Linked DNA regions of Homo sapiens: all the other regions are linked to region 3. Evidence: promoter capture Hi-C in 16 types of primary human blood cells and fetal thymus (Javierre and others, 2016). All regions are on one chromosome and are shown on one strand. The core of a region is centred on a gene start or on the middle of the fragment in contact, and the rest is flanking DNA. Distances in the headings are between cores, read along the strand shown.

What was found. Contacts are between HindIII fragments. The CHiCAGO score rates a contact against its expected background, and 5 or more counts as called.
Region 1: a fragment that was not itself captured here is called in contact with the fragment with the promoter of CHP2 in region 3 in 1 of 17 cell types (M0 macrophages); the score reaches 5.1 in M0 macrophages.
Region 2: a contact is called between a fragment that was not itself captured here and the fragment with the promoter of CHP2 in region 3, in 2 of 17 cell types (M2 macrophages and naive CD8 T cells). The highest score is 5.9, in M2 macrophages.

What each region holds. Positions count from the first base shown.
Region 1 is chr16:24,470,011-24,472,989 of GRCh38, reverse strand. It overlaps LOC105371143 (a long non-coding RNA gene), which reads left to right. Exons shown (of 4, transcript XR_950928.3): 3 at 1,150-1,246. Among named protein-coding and RNA genes, the nearest start is that of RBBP6, 68 kb to the left of the region's middle. The HindIII fragment of the contact is 418 bases long and covers 1,165-1,582 here.
Region 2 is chr16:24,491,057-24,493,909 of GRCh38, reverse strand. All of the region lies in intron 1 of LOC105371143 (a long non-coding RNA gene), which reads left to right. Among named protein-coding and RNA genes, the nearest start is that of RBBP6, 47 kb to the left of the region's middle. The HindIII fragment of the contact is 5,778 bases long and covers 1-2,853 here.
Region 3 is chr16:23,753,374-23,756,357 of GRCh38, reverse strand. CHP2 (calcineurin like EF-hand protein 2) reads right to left here and starts at 1,332. Exons shown (of 7, transcript NM_022097.4): 1 at 1,242-1,332; 2 at 625-697; 3 at 431-511; 4 at 165-295. The coding sequence starts at 1,308. RefSeq lists an enhancer at 799-1,444. The HindIII fragment of the contact is 3,392 bases long and covers 448-2,984 here.

The DNA.
Region 1 (2,979 bases), core at 124-2,623, 720 kb before region 3:
TAATTTTTGTATTTTAGTAGAGGCAGGGTTTCACCATGTTGACCAGGCTGGTCTCAAACTGCTGACCTCAAGTGATCCCCTGTCCTCGGGCTCCCAAAGTGCTGGGATTACAGGCATGAGCCACCACGCCTGGCCGAGAATTGTTAACTAGGAATCAAGTTGATAACCAGGCAACTAAAAAGGAAAAAAAAACAACAAAACAAAACCAACCCAACAACAATATTAATGTATCACAGAAGAAGCAACTGAAGGAAACAGCTATACTCAGAGGTCTGGGGGAACAATGAGAAAAGGTTGGCATTAACACTTAGAATCAGCCAAGTGCAGTGGCTCATATCTGTAATCCCAGAGACTCAGGAGACCAAGGTGGGAGGATTGCTTGAAGCCAGGAGTTTGAGACTAGACTGGGCAACATAGTGAGACCCTGTCTCTACAAAACATAATAAAATTGGCCAGGCAGAGTGGCATTCACCTGTGGTCCCAGCTACTCGGGAGGTTGAGGTAGGAGGATCACTAGAGCCCAGTTACAGTGAGTATGACTCACTGTAACTACACTCCACTACACTCCAGCCTGGGAGACAGAGTGAGACCCTGTCTCAAACAAACAAACAAACAAACCAAAAAATCACTAGAATAATAGGAGAAAAGTGCCCTGCAAACTGAAACTCAGATCTCTAAGGAGGGACGGGGGTTGGAGTCTTTGAGGGGTGCAATTAGACTGGTTCTGCCAGTGTTAGGAAAACTGCAAACTGGATTGAGATGCTGCTATGGGAAGGAACTGCCATTGCAGGAGAAAGGAAGCCTTGCTAGGAGAGTGTTCACAGGAACAGAAAGAGCAAGTTCCTTTTTCCTCCAGCCTTGCAGTTCCCCTCTAACACCCCCATGGGTAGAACCTCACAGGAAGCAGCTGGAACAGCAGAAATATGCTTTTCCCAATTCCAACTCTTGTATCACAAAGCAGAATACAGAAGGTTGGGTTTGGAGTTGAGAGATAACAACTAAATAATAGCTGGCACAAGGCCCACCTGATCAGAAATTAATCTCACCTCCTTGGGGATAAGGGCTTTGGGTGGGAGGAAAGGAGGCTCTTGAACTCATGGGCATTGAGCACGTGACTAGTTGTCTTAGAGAAAATGTGCCACCCTGCAGGGCCGCCTGAAAGCTTGTACAAGTGCCTGAGGAAAGCCGGATTTGGCAGGCTGCAACCACGGTGGATGACAGCTGAAGGAGAATTACAGCAGCAGCAGTTAAGTAGAAGATGTTCACACTTCCTCGCTCTGCATCTTTCTTCCTGGAGCCCAACACCTCGGAGGAGAATGGGAAACCCAGAAGAAGGAGTGGGAAGTAGGGTTGCCACATAAAATATAGGACTCTCAGTTACATTTGAATTTCAGATAAGCAGCAGATTATTTCTTAGTATAAGTATGTGCCAGTATGTGTGTATGTGCACACATATGTGCACATGTATGCATGCATCAGCTAGATTCTGCAACCATCAGAGAAATAGACAAAGGTCCTTTTGACCAGTGGTCAAACTGAGCTATGAGGAGAAGATCTTGAAATTGCATGTGATATTGAAGCTTTAAACTTACTGAGTTGCTTGTGTTAGGCTTTTAAATACCGTAATGGGACTAAAAACTATGTTTCTAAGAGAGAGGAATATTTGGGAGTACAGCTGACCCTTGAACAATGCAAGGCTTAGAGGCATTGTCAAAAATCCACATGTAACTTTTGACTCCACAAACATTTAACTATTTTTCTTGTCTTTTTTCTTTTTTTTTTTTTGAGATGGAGTCTCACTCTGTCTCCCAGGCTGGAGTGCAGTGGGGTGATCTCAGCTCACTGCAACCTTCACCTCCCAGGTTCAAGCAATTCTCAAGCCTCAGCCTCCTGAGTAGCTGGGATTACAGGTGTGCACAAAGATGCCTGGCTAATTTTTGTATTTTCAGTAGAGATGGGGTTTCACCATGCTGGCCAGGCTGGTCTTGGACTCCTGACCTCACGTGATCTGCCCACCTTGGCCTCCCAAAGTGCTGGGATTACAGGCATGAGCCACGGCATCTGCCCAAAAACTGAACTATTAGTAGCCTACTGTTGACTGGAAGTCTTACTGATAACATAGTCAATTAACACATGTTTTGTGTTATATGTATTATATACTATATTCTTACAATAAAGCAAGCTAGAGAAAATAGAATATTAAGAAAATCATAAGGAAAATATATTTAGGATTCTTTTTTTTTTGAGATGGAGTCTTGCTGTGTCACCCAGGCTGGAATGCAGTGGTCAGCCTTCCAACGTGCTGAGATTACAGGCGTGAGCCACTATGCCCGGCCATATTTACTATTCATTAAGTGGAAGCGGATCATCATAGATGACTTCATCCTCATCCTCTTCACACTGAATAGGGTGAAGAGGAGGAGGAAGAGGAGGGGTTGGTCTCACTGTCTCAAGGGTGGCAGAGGCAGAAGAAAATCCAGGTAGAAGTGGACCCAAGCAGTTCAAATCCATGCTGTTCAGGGGTCAACTGGGTCAACTGTGTAGTTAAAGGTAGTGAGTAGTTGGAGAAAAATGAAACTGCTTTCGTGTTTATACCTTCACTGAGTTCAGACCTCGTAATAAACTGGGTATCTGTATGTGTGACAAACAATAGAGGAGATGTGTGTGCAGGGTGTTCAAGGGGCTTTTGCATCTTTGCTGGTGATCACAAATAGGGCTTTAATTCTTGGACTTGAAGAGCTGCAGGAGCCATTGAAAGGATACATGGAGCTAGTTGAATACCACATTATCATTTAGCAAGTGATATTTAGCTCTATTCCTGTGGATGAACCCTGATTAGGATCTTAAGTTTGTATGTTGTTGGAGATTATTCTTGTTTGTCTTGGAAATGAACATTCATTCATTCGTTCTGGTGCCTAGCATAGACAATAAATCACAATTCAAATAATGAAAAATTATATATTTATTTATTAAGCATCT
Region 2 (2,853 bases), core at 70-2,569, 740 kb before region 3:
AATCAATGGGCAGAAAGCTCCAGTCAAGCAAGATGAATAAGCTCTAGAAATCTGCCGTATGACATTTACCTATAGTCAGCAGGAATGTATTGGACACTTAAAAAATCTGTTAAGAGAGGAGATCTCATGTTGTGTTCTTTTTTCTTTTTTTTTTTTTTTAAGAGATGGGGGTCTTGCTATGCTGCCCAGGCTAGTCTTGAGCTCCTGGCCTCATGCGATCTTCTGCCTTGGCCTCCCAAAGTGCTGAAATTACAGGTGTGAGCCATTGCACCTGGCCCCTAGTGTTCTTATCACAATTAAAAAATAAAAAAAGATGGCCAGGCATGGTGGTTTGCACCTGTAATCCCAGTGCTTTGGGAGGCTGAGGTTGGGGGGATTGCTTGAGGTCAGGAGTTTGAGACCAGCCTGGGCAACACAGTGAGACCCAGTCTATATTTTAAAAAAGAGAGAGAAAGATGGACTATATCACATCTGTTTCTTTGCATCCCATTTTTCATCTCCTCCACCTTCACTTTGTTTTACTTCTTGTCAGCCTCAAGTCTTGGGGATGGGGTTGAAGATTCTGTGGCTAGCCCAGGTCTGCCTTTCTGGGATACACTGCCTGTCCAGGGAAGTGCTGCCCAAGAGAAATGTCATCTGACCCACACATGTAATTTTAAACTTTCTGCTAGCCACATTAGAAAGGTAAAGAGAGGCCGGCGTGGTGGGACATGCCTGTAATCTCAGCACTTTGGGATGCCAAGGTGGGAGATTGCTTGAGCCGTTTAAGATGAGCCTAGGCAAAATGGTGAGACCCTGTCTCCACAAAAATAAATAAATAGCTGGGCATGGTGGCTCAAGCCCGTAATCCTAGCACTTTGGGAGGTGGAGGTGGGCAGATTGCCTGAGCTCAGGAGTTCAAGACCCACCTGGCCAACATGGTGAAAGCCCATCTCTACTAAAAAAATATAAAAATTAGCCGGGGGTGGTGGCGTACATCTGTAGTCCCAGCTATTTGGGAGGCTGAGGCAGGAGAATCGCTTGAACCTAGGAGGCAGAGGCTACAGTGAGCCGAGATCGTGCCACTGCACTCCAGCCTGGGTGACAGAGTGAGACTCTGTCTCAATAAATAAATAAATATGAGGCCAGGCACGGTGGCTCACGCCTGTGATCCTAGCACTTTGGGAGGCCGAGGAGGGCAGATTACTTGAGGCCAGAATTTTGAGAGCAGCCTGGAAAACATAGCAAAACCTGTCTCTACAAAAAATTAAAAAATTTTGAGACTCCGTCTCAAAAAAAAAAAAAAATTAGCTGACTGAGGTGGGAGGATGGATTCAGCCCAGGAGGCTGAGGCTGCAGTGAGATATGATCACACCACTGACTCCAACCAAAAAATAAAAGACACCCATGACAATTTTCTTTTTTTTTTTTCTTTTTTTTTTTTTGAGACGGAGTCTCGCTTTATTGCCTAGGCTGCTGGAGTGCAGTGGCACAATCTCATCTCACTGCAACCTCCAACCCCCTACCACGGGTTCAAGTGATTCTCGTGTCTCAGCCTCCAGAGTAGCTGGGATTACAGGTGCCCCCCACCACGCCCAGCTAATTTTTGTATTTTCAATAAAGAGGAGGTTTTGCCATGTTGGCCAAGCTGTTCTCAAACTCCTGACCTCAAGTGATCCGCCTGCCTCGGCATCCCAAAGTTTTGGGATTACAGGCGTGAGCCACTGTACCCGGCTGACAATTTTCATAATGTTTTATTTAACCCAATATGACTAAATTACTGTTACTTCAGTGTGCTATTAATATAAAACATCGTTATTTTCTTTTTCCATACTAAAGTTTTTTAAAATACTGGGGTGTAATTTATACTAATGATCCCAACTTAATGCAGACTGACCACATTTCAAGTGCCCAATGGCCACATGTGCCCATGGATACTGCAATGGACAGTGGAGCTCTAGAGCTCTGAACCTCTGTGTTCTGGGGTGACCTCACTCCCGTGACTAATGTCAGAAGATGGCTGTAAGGCCCAGGGCTATTTGTGTCCAGCTCCAACTTAATCTCTCCTGGGGAAATGAGCTTTGTTCTCTTTTAGTGGAGAATCTGTCCTTGGTTTGCCCATTGTGGGATGTTTTCTAGAGCACAGATGCTAATGTTGTTCTAAAAAACTGGGGTTCTTGGCCAGGTGAGGTGGGTCACACCTGTAATCCCAGCACTTTGGGAGGTTGAGGTGGGTGGATCACTTGGTCAGGAGATCGAGACTATCCTGGCTAACACGGTGAAACCCCATCTCTACTAAAAATACAAAAAATTAGCCAGGTGTGGTGGTGGGCGCCTGTAGTCCTAGCTATTCAGGAGGCTGAGGCAGGAGAATGGCGTGAACCCGGGAGGCGGAGCTTGCAGTGAGCTGAGATCGCGTCACTGCACTCCAGCCTGGGCAACAGAGCGAGACTCCATCCCAAAGAACAAAACAAAACAAAACAAAACTGGGGTTCTTCATCAGGCAAGTAACAAAGACTCTTTATAGGGATGTAGGTTTGGATCAATAGGAGTTTTATTACTTGATACAAGTAAAGGAGAACATTGAGAGTATTCTCCAAAGCAGTGTCTTCCCAAGGGAAAGTGATAGGCGAGTTTTATGGGGTAATAGAGAAGGGAGAGGGTGCAGCATTGCGTGTAGTGGGGTCTCAGTTGTGCAGATGCGCTGAGCTATCATGCCAGCACATAGGTTGCATGTTAAGGTAATGAAGCTATAGCTCCTCTGGGGGTGGAGACTTTAGCATGGTAATGAGGAATGTTCACTTGGGTTCATCTGTAAGTTGTGGGAGTCTGCCAGGAGCTGGTTTTAACTGATTAGGTGACTGCATTCCATAC
Region 3 (2,984 bases), core at 83-2,582:
GTAGGTCTTCCCTGGCTCTCTTCCAGCAGCCACCTTCCTTCCCCCCACCTTGGAGGAGGGGGGAGGTTGTCAATGCCCTCAGGAAGGGAGTGGGAGATCCCTGGAGCCTGTCCCTGGTGTGGGTACATCTGCATTCTCACTTGTGCAGGTCCTCACAAACTCACAGTGAAGTTTGTTCCTTCTGCTGTTGAGAGGTTCAGGTTTCTTGGGGTCTTGGGTTTCTGTGTCCTCATCTTCTACAGGGCGAAAATGAGCCAAGACCCTGACAAAGCCTGGGAAATCCACTCGCTGGCTCCTGGGGAGACGGGACAGAATGGAAAGAGGTGGTGGTCACCTTGGCCATCACTTTGCCTCCGTCTCTAACCTCCCCTCCCACCCACTCACACACCGGTTTTCCCGCCTTCACCTCCCCACGCCCAGCAAGCCTCACCCATCGGGGAAGAAGCTTTCTATAATTCGGTCTCCCAGGGGGTTCACGGCGAGCGCCCCTATCTGCTGGAGATCCATGCGGCTGCAAAGCCAAATTTCAAAGAGGGTAAGGCAGAGATGCCAGACGGAGGGTCAAAGAGGGACATGGAGTCAGAGAGACAGAGGCCAGAAGTTATGAGGCCGGCTCCCCCTCACCTCAGGTAGCCCTTCTTATTCCTGTCCAGTGCCCGGAACCGGTGGTGCAGGCGGAGCAGGCTGGCTTGGGAGACTGCGGGAAGGAGAGTGGGGTGGGGGTGTGTGACTCTGCAGGGCCAGCTCCAGAAACCCGCCCCAACAGGCCAGGAAGATGGGCCAGAACAGCGGGGGCTGGCTGGAAGGGGCGATCATCCCGGGGAATCAGGGGTTGAGCTGGCCGGGGCGGAGGGAGAGTGACACGACCCCGCGAAGATCCAGGTTCAAGACCCGGGCGGCTCGCAACCTCCCGAAAACCAAAGAACCAAAGCCATCCCTTCCAACCGCCGTCAGCTCTGCCTTCAGCTTCGAGCCGGGCTGGAGGACACCTGGGTGCCTGGATTCCTCTGGACTCCGACCCCGTGAACCCGGATCCTCCCCAGACTTGGAGGCTGGGACCCCTAGGTTAACCCGCCCCTAACCCAGCGATCCCAGGCACAGGGGCCTTGGTCTTCCAGCTCCGGGGAGCCCCGGACCCCAGACTTGTAAGTTCGTCCATCCTTCAACCCAACCCCTTCCCTAGCCCCAGACGCCTGGGTTCGCCCCGTCCCCTCCGCAGCCGCCGACGCGGGCGCACTCACAGCCGGTCTCTCGCCGAATACTGTCCCCGTCGGGAATGACCGCGGCGTGGGAGCTGCGCGACCCCATGGCCGAGCTGGAGGCGGAAGGGCCGGAGCAGCCACCCGGACCCACGCGTTCTCTCCTCCCGCCGGAGAGGCGTGGCCGCCCCAGTGGCCCCAGGGGGACGAAGGCCACAAGCCTGGCGCGCGGCCAAGCTCCAGAACCCCGGCGTGCCTCTCCTCCCACCCGCGACCCGGGCGAATGGAAAACAATGTGCAGGGTGGCGGGTCAGAGGGAGGCTGCGAACAACGGGCTGTTTCAGCTCCGAGATTTTGCGATCCGCACGGGAGAGGCTGGTCGAGTCCCAGGCCCCGCGTTTCCACGCCTCCCCCGGGGCCGGTTCCCACGGTGCGCCCTGACACCTGAGCCACCTCCTCCTTCGCGGGCCCCGGGCGCTCCCAACCCCAGGGCGCTCCCCGGCGTCGACGCTGAGGAAGCCTGGGAGACCTGACCTCCTCTGTAGAGACCACGCCCTGCTGGAAGGCGGGTGGCCTATGGGGAGGGAATCCTGGGGGGAGGGGGGAAGAGGCATCGAAGAACTCCCAAAGACGGGGAAGTGGGGAGGGGCGGCGAGATGAAGGGTGTGCGTTAGGTTAAGTGGAAAGAGCACTGGTTTGGGAGTCCTTGTTGGAATCCCAGCCGTGCCCGTGACTCTGGGAAAGTCAGTAAATCTTGGTTTCATCCCTTTTGTTCGGTTCACATTGCCTTATTGTTGTTTAATTGAGCCAATGCTTAAAATTCAGGAGATTTAACCCAAAATCCACATTCTTGGCTTTTCCTGAGAAATCAGAAGTTCTATCACCACCAGGCCCAGAGCTGTCTTCTGGCCACAGTCCCTCCAAGCCCAATTCACTCCCTTAGGTACCTACTGATCCCGTAGAGCTCCAGACTGGGAATGACTTAGTCCTCTGAACAGCCCTCCAGAGCCATGGGACTCCTTGGCCCAAGAGAGGGTTACAGACATCACTGGGACTAGGCTTAAAGCAAGAATGACAACAAGGGCTCTTGTTTACCACGCTTTGCTAAGCACTTTACGTGCATCCGTTCACACATTCCTTGTAGGCCCTGCTGGGCTGCTTTCTTCTAATTTTACGTGGTGGAGGCTGCCGGGGGCAAGTTGTGAACTAATTATGTAAAGCGTGCATTCTCAGTGCGGTCTCTATCTCACCCCAACGGGGCAAAAAATAAAACATATTTTTTATGTACAAAGCACAGCATACATACAGCACATAAATAGATATACAGTATAGCTGTGATATTGAAATTTCAGGGCAGACGTGGAGGCTCATGCCTGTAATCCCAGCACTTTGGGAGGTAGAGGCAGGAGGATTGCTTGAGCCCAGGAGCTCAAGACCAGCCTAGGCAACATAGTGAGACCCCATCTCTACAAAAGAATACAAAAAAAAAAAATTAACCAGGTGTCGTGGCACATGCCTGTAGTCTCAGCTACTTGGGAGTCTGAGACAGGAGGATCACTTGAGCCCAGGAGGTTGAGGCTGCAGGGAGCCATGATCACGCCATTACACTCCAGCCTGGGTGACAGAGTGAGACCCTGTCTTGAAAAGAAAAGAGGCCGGGCGCGGTGGCTTATGCCTGTAATCCCAGCACTTTGGGAGGTCGAGACGGGCGGATCACCTGAGGTCAGGAGTTTGAGACCAGACTGACCAACATGGAGAAACCCAGTCTCTACTAAAAATACAAAA